Regions from separate parts of the Homo sapiens genome. Here regions 1 and 3 are each linked to region 2. Evidence: promoter capture Hi-C in 16 types of primary human blood cells and fetal thymus (Javierre and others, 2016). All regions are on one chromosome and are shown on one strand. The core of a region is centred on a gene start or on the middle of the fragment in contact, and the rest is flanking DNA. Distances in the headings are between cores, read along the strand shown. Region 1 overlaps NSMCE2 (NSE2 SUMO ligase component of SMC5/6 complex). Region 2 holds the start of TRIB1 (tribbles pseudokinase 1). Region 3 has its middle 180 kb from the start of LINC02964.

Region 1 (4,600 bases), core at 664-3,163, 330 kb after region 2:
CTGTATTCCAAGCACCTAAAACAACGCATGGCACATTAGTGGCCATTCAACAAAGGCTTGCTGAAAGAAGGAATGAATGTAATACTATGTATCTCCAGCACCTAAAACAGCACATGTCTCCAAAACTGTAGTATAGGTGGTATGCCCAGGGCTCAGTGCTCTGATCTCTCTTTTCCATCCTCTCCCATCCACCTAGTGTTCCCAACTAGACCCATTCCATCTAAATACCATTGGCAAGATCACTCCAGAACTTAAAACGTCCAACATGGAAGGCCCACATTCCTTCTCTCCCACCCTACCCCTCCCCCAAACCTACTCCTTTTACAACCTGCCCCATCTTACTAAATAGCAACTCCATCCTTCCATTTGTTGAACCAAAACTCTTGGTTCATACTTGATCCTTCTCCTCCTCCCCTCATATCCTATACCAAACTCAACATCAATTTTGCCAGCTCTGTAGTCAAACTATCTCCAGAATCCAACCACTCTCACCAATTCTGCTGATAACACCGTGATTCAAACCATCATCTCTTGCCTGAATTACTCCAACAGTCTCCTACCTGGTCTCCCTGCTCTCAGTCTTGCCTCTTCCACCCTATTCTCAACACAGCAGCCAGAGTAAACCTTTGAAAATGTACGTAAGATCATGTGACTCCTCTGCTCAAAAACTCCTAAGGACTTCCTGACTCACCGGGAGTAATGGCCAAAGAGCTTCGTAATAACTGACAATAGTGGTTCTCCAAATGGTTCCTGACCAAGTGTCACCAGCATCACCTATGAACTTGTTAGAAATGCAAATTCTCAGGCCCCAACAATCTACGTTTTAACAAGTCCTCTATGTAATTCTAACTCTGATATATCTAGGAGACATGTAGTGTCAGTGTATTGAATCATCTGATGGGCCCATTAAAACACTGATTGCTGGACCTCACCCTCAGAATTTCTAATTCAGTATGTCTGGGAAGGGACCTAAGAATCTGCATTTCTAACAAATTTCCAGGTAATGTAGATTTTGCTGATCCAAGAATTACACTTTGAAGACCACTGTTCTACATTATCTGGCCATTGCTAGTCCTTTAATAACCCAGGCATGCTTCACCTTAAGGTCTTTGAGCTTGCTAATAAGACAGAGATGCCAGTAATAAAGACAGAAAAAAGCAGGAAGGGTTGGTCCTAACTCCCTCCTGCCTATATAATAAAATTCAACATAATTAGCACAGTATCCAAAGCTTTCTACAATATAATGCAAACACGCTTTTCAAATCAGAGATTCTACTTTTCACCAAGACTTAAATCATACATTTCATATAACCTTAACTATTTGATATTCCAGAATAAACATAACTCCTTTCTGCCACAACCCCTCAAAACAGGCTTGGCAGAGAACAAGTTCCATATTAAAAGAATGAACCAAGTACTATGAAGTTGAAAAAAGAAACCGATTACACAAACCCACTATGCTACAATGTTCAAGAAAGGAAAGGATTATAGGCACAACAGGGGAGACATAGGCTTCACGGAAATGAAGGCACTTAAGCTGGACCATAAAAGGTACTCAGGATTTGGAAAGGTCTAAATTATCAGGGAGAGCTGTTCAGATGAAGGAAGCAGTGAGATGAAAAAAGATCATAAGGTAGTAAACGATGAGATGAGTTCCCTTTGCCTGGCATACAGGTACAAAGGAATGGGAAGATAACTGGATTTCATTCTTTGGGAATATAGTGTAGACAGCCTTAAGTACAGGATAAAGATTCACTCCAGTTGGGTCTAGTGGTCATCATGGAAATTTGAGCTCTATGTATTTTCAAAACTTTACCTTAAAAATCAAGACCTGAAACAAATATGGCAAAATGTTAAAGATGTTAAAATCTGGGTGATGAAACAAGGGTTCTTGTTGTGTTCTTTTCTGGGACTTTACAGTTCCACATCAAAAAAGAAAAAATACAAACAGGAATAAAAGCCAATGATGATCTTCAAACATTTGCATTGAAAGAGACTGCTTGTTTACAATCTCACTGTATTATACCAAACAAGTTGAGACATTTTACACAATATAAATACAAACATACACAAAAAGATGGAAAAACATAAATTCAGAAAAACCAGGATCAAAAAACAGAAATTTACGGGCAAACCAAGCATATGAGAAAGTTATAATGGAGTCACGCACACTTTAGGATTCTACACAGAGGGCCAGGTGTGGTGGCTCCCGCCTGTAATCCCAGCACTTTGGGAGGCCGAGGCAGTTGATCACTCGAGGTCAGGAGTTCAAGACCAGCCCAGCCAACATGGTGAAGCCCCATCCCTACTGAAAATACAAAAATTAGCTGGGCATGGTGGTACACACCTGCAGTCCCAGCTACTCGGGAGGCTGAGGCAGAAGAATCGCTTGAATCCTGGAGGCAGCAGTTGCAGTGAGCTGAGATCACAAAAAGACTCCGTATGAAAAAAAAAAAAAAAAAAAAAGGATTCCACACAGTACTAGTAATACACATTTGGTAGTGAGCTTCCTCACAATCAAAACAAAAAGTGACAGTTATTTTCTCCAAAAAAAAAAAACAAATAACACTAGAAACTCAAGAAAAAAATAAAGCTTTCCATGGCAATCAAGGCAAGTATGGATCATCATATATGAGATAATGGGTTACACTGAAAAAAATAATCCTCAAAAATATCCTTATAGTAAATGCAATAGCAAACTTCTAGGACTGTTTCTTGAGACTATTTCTCAGGGCAGGTAAGGACAAAACACTTGTGACAGATACTGGACAGGTGCCCACCAAAACCATTTCCTCTTCAACCCGGTTACATGCCTATATATGCTCCACATTTTCCAGCCTTCCTTGAAGTTAGCTGTGGCCTATGACTGTACCCAAGGCAATGAAATGTGAGCCATTTCCAGGCCTAATCTGCAAAAAGCCACATTTTCCCATTTGATAGCTTGATGCAGGCAAGCATAGGGACCTTAGTAAAGCTATATGCTGATGATAGAGAATTACTGCATGGAAGGAGCTCAAGGCCCTACATCACTGCTTGGAGGAAAACTACTCACCTATCAGGCTCCATGCATGAAAGAAACTTCAACTGGGCAAAGCCATTTAGACTTGTGGGGTTTACCTGTTACAGTACTAAGTATTAATCAAAAAACACAAACCTGCAAGGACCAAATGATATAATTCCAGTATTCAATTTTCTTTTCTTTTTTTTTTTTTTTTTTTGAGATGGAGTTTTGCTCTTGTCCCTCAGGCTGGAGTGCAGTGGCACTACCTTGGCTCACTGCAACCTACGCCTCCCAGGTTCATGCAATTCTCTTGCCTCAGCCTCCCCAGTAGCTGGGAGCTACATGCCAGGCTAATTTTTGTATTTTTAGTAGAGACGGGGTTTCACTATGTTTGCCAGGCTGGTCTCAAACTCCTGACCTCAAGTGATCCACCGGCCTCGGCCTCCCAAAGTGCTAGGATTACAGGCGTGAGCCACTGCCCCTGGCCTCGGTTTTCTTTTTGTTTTTGAGACAGGGTCTTGTTCTGTCACCCAGGCTGGAGTGCAGTGACATGATCATGCTCGCTACAGCCTCAACCTCCCAGGCTCATGTGATTCTCCCACATTAGCCTCTCAAGTAGCTGGGACCACAGGCGCGCGCCACCACTTGGCCAATTTTTCTTTTTTAATTTTTAGTAGAGACGACCATCTCCCTGTGTTGCCCAAGCTGGTCTCAAACTCCTGAGCTCAAGTGATCCTCCCAACTCGGCCTCTCAAGTGCTGGGATTATAGGCATGAGACACCATGATCAGCAGAAGTATTCTGTTTTCTACTCAGTCTTGATTCTAGTGTAAGTCTAAATTGTCCAGAGCAGCATTGTCCAATAGAACTTTCTGTGATGAAAACGTTCTATAATCTGCACTGTCCAATATGATAGGCACTAGGCACATGTGTACTGATTATCTAAAACCTGGCTGGAAAGGTGGCTCATGCCTATAATCCCAGCACTTTGGGAGGCCAATGTGGGAGGTTGGCTTGAGCCCAGGAGTTCGAGACCAGCCCAGGCAATAAAGTGAGACTCTGTCTTTACAGAAAATAAAAAATTAGCTGGATGTGGTGGTGCGGGCCTGCAGCCCCAGCTCCTCAGGAGGAGATGTGGTAGGATCGCTTGAGCCGGGAGGTTGAGGTTGCAGTAAGCCATGATCACGCCACTGCACTCCAGCCTGGGCAACAGAGCGAGACCCTCTTTTCTCAAAAAAAAGAGAAAAGAAAAGAAAAGGAAGAGACGCCAGGGACTGCTCTCTCTCTCTCTCCCTACCATGTGAAGACACATAAAAAGGGCAGCCATCTACAAGCCAAGAAGAAAGTCCTCACCAGAATCCAACTATGCTGGCAACCTCACCTTGAACTTCTGGCCTCCAGAACTGTAAGAAATAAATTTCTGTTGTTTAAGCCACCCAGTCTATGGTATTTTGTTATGGTAGCTTGAACAAAGACACAGTATCTATGAAGATTAATGCAATCCAGTATAAATGGAAAGTATCTACCAAACAGTAGCTGTCACTATTTGTTTGAATGCAAAACTCACATTACTTTAGTGAAACTTCACTTTTGCAGAGGA
Region 2 (4,390 bases), core at 125-2,624:
CCTTACCACCTACAACTGAGCCCGGGTGCCGTGCAAGCCCGGCAAGAGAGCTGCCAGCTGCTCCAAGCTCCTAGGAGGCACCCACTAAAGGGCGTCCTTCCAGGACATTGGCGGGGGAGGGGGGGTGGAGAGCGAGGAGAATGAGAGAAGGGGAATGGCATGGCCCTGGAATCCATTTCAATTCCACAACTTATATGGAACGCCACGCGCTACACTGGGCGCTGAGGAAAGGAACAGATAGAGAAAGCCACTGAACACTGCACTTCCTCTAGGCGCCCCCATTATATCACTCCATGGGAAACCCCTCGATCCACAAAAACGTGAACCTGGTCAAATGGCGTCTTATCTGACCCAATCTACTGATCCGCCCTGTGCCCAGCCCAAGCGTTGGCCGGACCCCAAGCACCTTTGCCTACCACCCCGTCCCGCGCCCCCGACCCCAGCCGGGTCCTGGCCCGGGAGCGCCTACCTTGCAGCGCAGCTCGCGTCCAGTGTGGATGCACAGCGCCCGGGACACATGCTCGCGCTCGGCTAGGGGCAGCAGCAGGTAGTCGGCGATGCGGCTGGGCCCCGGCGCGCTCCCGGAGCCTCCGCCGGCCCCCGGAGCGGCAGGCGGGGGCTGCGGGCTGCAGGGCGAGCCGGGGGGGCTGAGGTAGTCCGGGGGGCTGGAGCACTCGGAGAGGCGCGGGCACTTGGCCGCCACAGCCGCCGCGTCGTCGGCGTCCAGCAGGCGTTTGGCCGGGACGCCTCGGGTGGCTGGGAAGAGCAGGGCCGGGCCGCGGGGCTGCGAGGCGCCGCTCATGGCAGAGCGCACCGGACCGACCCGCATCCCGTCCTGGGCCGGGGTGGCCCCGGCTTTTTAAGTCCCGGGATCCGCGCGGGAAGACGCTGCGGGTTTGGTGCCGGCTCCGCGACTTCTTCCAGCCGGCGGGATGGAGTTTGCAGACTGGTCTTGGCTCGGCCCCCACGAGGGGCAAAGCAGGAGCCACTCCCCGGCGCTCGCGTTGCACGCGGGGACCACGCTGGCTGTGCGTCCGGGAGGCGGAGGCCGGCTCGAGTCCCCGGACCCCCGCAGGCAAGGGCTCCCGGAGCCTCGCTGGGGGCGGCCGCCACTATTGTTGCCGAGGCTGCCGATAGTCCGGGAGGCAGAGGCGGCGGCGGCAGCGGTCAGCGATCCCGGGGTCCCGAGCCGCGAGGACAGGATTCAGCAGGCTCGGCGGAGCCACGAAGCAAATGCACTTCCCAAAGCGATGAGTCTCCAGCAAAAGCCGGGGGAACTTTTTCGCGGCGCTCGGGATCCTGAGCGCTCCTGGGCTCCGGGCGTGTATGAGAGCGAGCGAGACGCGCTCAGAGAGAGTGACTGTGAGTGAGTGTGAGCGCTGCACCGATCCCGGCCAGTGCACTCCTCCTTCTCCTTTTCCTCCACCTCCTCCGCCTCCTGGTGACTCACGCTGTATACACACACACTCACAGGCCGGGCTGTGTAAACAGTTGGGAAGCCGGGTTGTGCAATGAGGTGGCTGCGACGACTCCGGCCCCGCCGCCCAGCGAGCAGTCTCCGGAGCGGAGGGAGGAGACTGGGGGAAGGGGAGAGGGAGTAGGAGGTGGGGGGAATGGGGGTGGACTTAGGGCTGGGGATGCTCCGGGCAGCGCGCGCTCGGGCGCAGGTGGTGCGTCCCGGGCCGGCCTGGACGCGCGCACACGCCCCCAGGGCTGGGAGGGGCTGGGCAGGAGGCGGCGCGCGCGCCCTCCCGCAGGCCCCCAGCTCAGCGGAGAAGCCGAAGGAGGGGGCGGAGGAAAAGTTCCCGTGACGTAAGGGCCCGGGGAAGTGGGCGGGAGGGACGGGGCTGCGGGGAGCGAAGCGACCGCTGATTGGTGCGCGCGCCTCATTCACAGTAAGCACAATGGGCTGCGGGCGCGAGGCGGGAGCGCGCACCACGGTTCTCTGCACCCGCCGCTCGCTGCAGCCCCGCGGCGACGCCTTTCGCCCCGGGGATCCCCCCACCGCCCAGCGCCTGGGGAGCTCCGGTTGGAGCCGTGGGCGCCGCCGAGGCCCGGCTGCAGCCGGAGGAAGGAGGGGGATAGGGAGGTGATGAATTCCAGAATCAGTCATTCACCCCCACGCGGTAGTTCCGGGGAAGACCTGTGCGTGGTAGTGGATGTGGCTTTTTTTTTTCCCTTTTCCTGCCCCCTCCCAGCTCTAATCCCCAGCGTCTGTTCGCTTCCACAAATAGAACCTTCTGTTGGAGGAAATAAAAGCAAACACTGGGCCTTCTGCGCTGCCTCCACCTCCACGCCCCCCCAACCCCCCCGCGCCTGCCGCCCGCCCGGATTGCACGGAAATAGCTTCTCCAGGCTCCCGGGCCGCCCCTTCGCGGTGACTCGCAGAAAGAGCTTCCTGAGCCAGGGCCGGTGGGAAACAAAGGATGTGGGGAGCGGGCGGAAGGGGCCCACGTGGCTGCCGCCGGATTCCTACTCCCTCCCCAGCCTCCACACGCGCCGCAGGGTCTAGGGCCTGAGTGCCAACCTGGGTAGGTGGGTAGGCTGGTGGAAGTCATTCTGGCCACTGCCAGAGATACCGCCTGCACCCGGGCAGCCCTGCCTGGTGGTGCGCATGCATTCATTCCGTGTGATTTGGAAGAGCATCAAAGTTGCGCGTGAAACAACTTGGAATCTGTCATTTTTCTTTCTTGAGTGAACCAGGTCAGTTTGGAGTCCCTGGGCACCCAACAATATAACTATTATTAGAGAGCCCTTACTTGTCCTTCTGCTAAATACTTAATTTTCTAAAACCAGGTCGAGCCCCAGGAATAAATCATTTTCCTTATTAATTCTCCATTCATTCAACAAATACTAATTAAGCATCTACCAAGAGCTAAACGCTGGGAATTAGAAGGTGAAAATTAAAATAATAATAATAGCTAACATGAATCGAGGCCTACAATGTGTCGGACACTGTTCTTAGCACTTTATATGTATTACTTCAGTTTTCCAACCACACTATGGGGTTATTTTTTGCCCCATTTCACAGGGAAGAAACTGAAGCCTTAGAAGGATGAAGTTAGGCCAAGCGTGGTGGCTCACGCCTGTAATCCCAGCACTTTGGGAGGCTGAGGTGGGCAGATCACCTGAGGTCAGGAGTTCAAGACCAATCTGGCCAACATGGTGAAACCCCGTCTCTACTACAAGTACAAAAATTAGCTGGGTGTGGTGGCGCGCGCCTGTAATCCCAGCTGCTGGGGAGGCTGAGGTGGGAGAATCACTTGAACCTGGGAGACAGAGGTTGCAGTGAGCCGAGATCGTGCCACTGCACTCCAGCCTTGGGGAGAAAGCAAGACTTAGTCTCAAAAAATAAAAAATAATAATAATAATAATTTAAAAAAAGAACGAAAGATGAAGTTACTTGCTGCGGTTAAGTAGCTCATAAGGGGTGGTGCGGTCAAGCTCCTAAGCATTTATGGCGACTGGAAGGAGAGATTACAATTTGTAGGGGAAAACAGGAGTTAGGGAGGACTCTAGAAGGCATTTGACCTGGGAGATGTGCAGGGACTGTGAGGGAGTTGCTCAAGGGAGAGTATGAATGGTGGGAGGCCGGGCCAGACAAGGGGTGTGCGGAAGGGCAGGGCTAGCAGGCCAGAGAAACTACAAGGGTGGTGGGAGCTGAGCCTGCAGAGGTCTCCTGAGACAGTGTTGGGAAGGGCTTGAAAGCCATGTTGCACTTGGTCCTGTGCCCAGAGGAGAGCCCACCGAAGAGTTAGTTAGTTAGTTTGTTTGTTTGTTTGTTTGTTTGTTTGTTTTGAGACAGAGTCTCCCTCCATCGCCTAAGCTAGAGTGCAGTGACCCAATCTCGGCCCACTGCAACCTCTGCCTCCCGGGTTCAAGTGATTCTCCTGCCTCAGCCTCCCAGTAGCTGGGATTACAGGCGCCCGCCACCATGCCTGGGTAATTTTTTATTTGTAGTAGAGACGAGGTTTCACCATGTTGGCCAGGCCGGTCTTGAACTCCTGACTTTAAGTGATCCACCCACCTCAGCCTCCCAAAGTGCTGGGATTACAGGCTTGAGCCACCACGCCCGGCCCCACCTACATTTTTTTTGTCTTTGAAGATTATTCTGTGCCAGAATGTAAGATCCACTGAGCTGCCAGCACTTGAATGGCAAACTCAGCATGGCCCCTGAGCATCTTCCTCCCAGGTGTGTGCCTCCTTCTCTGCCTCTTCTGAGAGACAGGCATGCCACCATCCACCCAGCTCCGCCCACCCAGGGGCCAGGATCACAGGCACTCATCGTGGGTTCCCCTTTGAATCTGCCTTTTTCCTTTCTCCCACAGCCCACCCTAGACCTGTGAGCTCTCAGTGCCGGGCCCTACCCCGCACTGTTCAGCTCCCTGGG
Region 3 (4,736 bases), core at 1,127-3,626, 270 kb before region 2:
ATATTAGAGATAAAATCCAAATGACATGTCTCCCACGGCCCTTTACTTGCTATCTCTAACACATGAAATAGACTCAACACCTAGAATACATTTCTATGTCTACAAAGCACTTGAGAATCATGTCATCCTATTACCCATACTAGCAAAAATGAAGAGGCAGTTGCTCCTTCCAAGAGGAGAAAGAGTCAGGTTTAGCCACTCATTCAAATTACGCAGCAAGTCCAGGCAGAAGCAGAACTTAGATGATGATCCTGTAACCCCTAGACAGCCTCTACTTTCTTCCCAGAAGACTTGTGCAGATTCTCCAACCAAAGAAGCATGAACTTGACCGTTCCTGCCGACGCTCATGCTTCTCCTCCTGACTTGGAGGATGTATCCATATAGAATCCATACAGGGTCACAGTAGCTACTCCCAGCTTCTCATTTCACATAGAAAACAAATGCCACCCAGACTCAGAGAAGATGATGCCCAGGACCACACCATCAAACGGAGACAAGACCCCAGAAACTCCAAGTCTATCCAGGATTACAGAGAGGAAGCTGAGGCCTGGATTACAAAACTCTGCATGTGCTATGGTGTTCATTCATTCACCTGACACATGCTTATTGAGCATCTACTACGATTAATGCCTTAGGCCCTGGGAATATGGGTAAAGACAGTCACTGGAGACCCTGCCTTCCTAGAACTTACCTTTTCAAAGTCTTCCCAGGTGTGGCTCAGAAGCGCAGCTCCAGGATCCCCTGGTTTGGTTCTAAATCTACTGATGTGAAAGCACAGTCTTTCCCTGCTGTGTGTGAGCTTGTGATTTTTTTCCTACGTCAGTGAGGTCAATTACACTCCCGCAGTTTTGCAGCAAAGCTTTTTGAGACTCTCCAGTCACTGCTCTTATTAATTACTGTATCAGCTGTTTTACATACCTTAATTATTTCCCCATGGCACAGACAATGGCCTTTTTTGAGATTTTTTTCCTTGCTTTTTCTGGTAAAAATAGAAAATATGAATATGTATGTACTTTTTAAGGTTTTTCAGAATTTAAACACGACATGAGCGCCACCTGCTGGTTAAAATGAGACATATCTGCACTGATTCCTGTGATCTCAACTTTAAATATCCTACTATTATTACGTTGGTGCAAAAGTAATTGCGGTATTCCCATTACTGTCATTTATTTTTAAATAATATTTTAGGATACCATTTAAGCACCTACTGTATTCCTCTGCCAAGTTCCTTAATCCTCACAGTATAATTAATAACTCTAAAATATCATAAATATCATAGCTGATACTTGGTAAGAACTTATTTTATACATTATCTCATAAAATCTTCACAACAACCCTGTTTTTAAAGTGATGTTTCTAACTGAATTTCAAAGATTTGGAAATGGACACAGAGAGAGGAAGTGACTTGCCCAGGAAGTGGGTGGCACAGCCAAGATTTGAATTCCCGTGGGTCTACCTTCTATTCTGCTCTGGTATTATATAATAAGCTCAGCAAAATAAGGTACAGGGGTATTGAAAGTTCACAGGGCCCTTCCTCTATTCTTCCTGTATTAACTTTTGCACCTTCCACACCTCCCCCTTCTTCACTGGGGAGAGGAACTACTCGACTCCTGGCTACAGGCAGCCACCCTCTTCTGACTCCCTAGTACTGGCTGGTCCTGCCATTAGCTTTTCCTGCAACTCCAAAAATAGTAGGCATCACATTGCTAATCCTTCTTGGTGTCTCCCAAACAGCGTTTTGTACGCATCATTGATAATTCATTGATGTCGAAGGAGTGATTAAGAACAGAGGAATCCCAAGACCAGAGCCATTCAGAGTCAGGCAGGTAGGGTTGGGCACTCCACCCTTTAGAGAAAGTTATTAAGCCTCTTTAAACTTCAGTTTTTGACTGGGCACGGTGACTCACACTTCTAATCCTAGCACTTTGGGAGGCCAAGGCAGGTGGATTATCTAAGGTCAGGAGTTCAAGACCAGCCTGGCCAACATGACGAAACTCTGTCTCTACTAAAAATACAAAAATTAACTGGGTGTGGTGGCATGTGCCTGTAATCCCAGCTACTCGGGAGGCTGAGGCAGGAGAATCACTTGAACCCAGGAGGTGGACGCTGCAGTGAGCTAAGATCATGCCACTGCACTCCAGCCTGGGTGACAGAGTGAGACTCTGTCTTAAAAAATAACAATAATAATAAATAAATAATAAATTTCAGATGTCTCATCTCTAAAATGAGGATAATAATCCCAAGCTCTATACTATAGTTTGGATGTCTGTCCCACCAAACCTCATGCTAAAATTTGATCCCCAATGTTGAAGATGTGGCCTAAGGAGAGGTGTTTGGGTCATGAGAGCAGATGCCTCATGAATAGATTAATGCCCTCCCTCGAGGATGAGTGAGTTCTCATTCCTGCAGTGGCTAGTTGTTAAAAAGAGCCGGGCACCTCCCTTCCCCCCATCACTTCCTCTGTCACCATGTGATCTCTGCATACACAGACTCCTATTCACCTCCCACCATAAGGGGAAGCAGCCTGAGGCCCTCACAAGATGCCCAATCTTGAACCTTCCAGCCAGCAGAATCATGAGCTACATAAACCTCTTTTCTTTATATGTTACCCAGCCTCAGGTATGTCTTGGTAGTAACACTAAATGCACTGAGACACTCTGAAATGTTCAGTGATGATTAAAGGGGAATCACACGGGAAAGTGCTGCATTCAGTATTCCCTTTGCGTTTGCCAAGGAAAGACCTTCAACAGTATGGCTTTATGAACCATAAGTTTCTCCATAAACCCTGAAGCTAATGGAAACCAGAGATGTAAACACTTACTGTAACATGCTATAGGAATATACACTGCTATCATTATTAGACAAAAAGAATTGAGATTCCACAATGATTTTTCAATTTCACTATTTATTGAGTAGTCTTGCGATCCAGGCAACCTGCTGGGGGCAGTGGAGGGCAGGATATTCAGCATGCACCACGGCCTTGTGTCTGAGTCACTTACTACCCAGCAGAAAGACTGTACTCCTTTCATTTCTCTCAAGCTGACACAACTGGGACCGATGGGTAGTTGGAAAGAAACCAATTTCAGCTCAGTGTGAGAAGTAGCACAGTATAGCAGTGAGGGTGCAGCATCAAAACACCTCTCTGTTCTTCTGACTCTGCTTTTACCCTGTGTGTCCTTAAACAAGCTACTAACCCTGTCTTCCATATGAGTATCAGCCCAGATAACGAATATAAAAAAGGACTTGTAAAGTGCTAAGCAAATATTGTAGCAAAGACTGCTATTATTCTTCAATTTCATATTCCCCTTCCTCCACAGCTAGAAACATGGCTGTTCAGAATAAAGACTACATTTCCCAGACTTTCTTGCAGATCAGGAGTGGTCATATGACTTAAGTTCTGCCAATGGGATGTAAACAGAGTATCATGTGGAAGATTCCCTTTGCTTCTGGGAAACTTTTTGACAGACAGCTGGCCCACTCATTGGGCCCCCTTCTTCCCACCTTCCTCCATCTGTGTTTGGAAAGTGAATGTCACTCCTGAAGCTCTATCTTGGGTCATGAGTACAGTGGCTAAGCCCTGGGCAGAGTGGAGTAGAAGGTCTAATGGTGCAGGTCCCTGAGAACTTTGTGGAGCAGAACCTTCATGGCAGGATTAGATTAACTGTGGATATTTACATGAGAGATAAATAAATAGCTATTTAAGCCACTGTCATTTTGAGTTTTCTATCACTCACAACTGGACCTAATTCTAACCCACATAAATATGGTTTGCTATCATTACTAATGGCATGCCAAAATGCCCTTTCTAACAAGGGATATTATTCAATAGAATGGGATGGACAACATCAACTCCCAGTGAAAACAACATTATAGGAGAGACTGTGCAAGCTTCCTTTAAGGTTATTACAGAACAGAATCTTCCCTCAGCTGGAATCCAAGGACCAGCAACCCAGTGGGCATGAAACCTATGTGCAGAGTAGGATCCATGACAGAAGTCAAGCCATATCATGAATAATTCATGGAAAATATATTCCCAAAGCACCTACTATGTGCCAGATGCTCAGGCTGCGTGAGAGCTGAGATACGGTCCTGCTCTCAAGTGGCTTACAGTCTGGTGGGAGACACATAATGGCAACACCATGGCATCCATGCACTAAAGAACACATTTCAGGTGCTATGGAAATGTGACAGTGGAAAGACACTGGCATTCTGGTAAGGAACCAAGCAGAAAATCAGGAAAGATTTCTTAGAGGAGCATTTAAGCTTGGTCTTGACCAGACACGGTGGCTAACGCCTGTAATCTCAGCATTTTGGGAGGCTAAGCAGGTGGATCACCTGAGGTCAGGAGGTCAGGAGTTCGAGACCAGCCTGACCAACATGGTGAACCATGTCTACTAAACCAACCATCTCTACTAAAAAATACAAAAATTATCCAGGTGTGGTGGCATGTGCCCATGTGCCTGTAATCCCAGCTACTCAGGAGGCTGAGGCAGGAGAATTGCTTGAACCCAGGAAGCAGAGGTTGCAGTGAGCCAAGATCATGCCATTGCACTCCAGACTGGGCAACAAGAGTGAAACTCTGTGTCAAAAAAAAAAAATAAAGATGGAAAGACATTTAAGCTTGGTCTTAATGGAAAAATGGGAGTTATCCAGAAAGAGAAGAGAGGAGAAAACATCCCAGCCAGAGCACAGAGCGCAGAGGCAAGAAAATGTTGGTTGGAAACCCAGAGCAGATG

The links. The method cuts DNA at HindIII sites, captures the fragments that hold promoters and counts their contacts. A CHiCAGO score of 5 or more calls a contact.
Region 1: a contact is called between a fragment that was not itself captured here and the fragment with the promoter of TRIB1 in region 2, in 5 of 17 cell types (neutrophils, fetal thymus, monocytes and 2 more). The highest score is 10.6, in neutrophils.
Region 3: a fragment that was not itself captured here is called in contact with the fragment with the promoter of TRIB1 in region 2 in 1 of 17 cell types (M1 macrophages); the score reaches 5.6 in M1 macrophages.

Annotation. Positions count from the first base shown.
Region 1 is chr8:125,094,501-125,099,100 of GRCh38, reverse strand. All of the region lies in intron 1 of NSMCE2 (NSE2 SUMO ligase component of SMC5/6 complex), which reads right to left. Among named protein-coding and RNA genes, the nearest start is that of NSMCE2, 4.9 kb to the right of the region's middle. The HindIII fragment of the contact is 1,364 bases long and covers 1,232-2,595 here.
Region 2 is chr8:125,427,342-125,431,731 of GRCh38, reverse strand. TRIB1 (tribbles pseudokinase 1) reads right to left here and starts at 1,374. Exons shown (of 3, transcript NM_025195.4): 1 at 470-1,374. The coding sequence starts at 829. RefSeq lists silencers at 512-851, 1,582-2,201 and an enhancer at 1,172-1,221. The HindIII fragment of the contact is 12,242 bases long and covers 1-4,390 here.
Region 3 is chr8:125,699,048-125,703,783 of GRCh38, reverse strand. No RefSeq gene overlaps it. Among named protein-coding and RNA genes, the nearest start is that of LINC02964, 180 kb to the right of the region's middle. RefSeq lists an enhancer at 4,528-4,677. The HindIII fragment of the contact is 3,029 bases long and covers 862-3,890 here.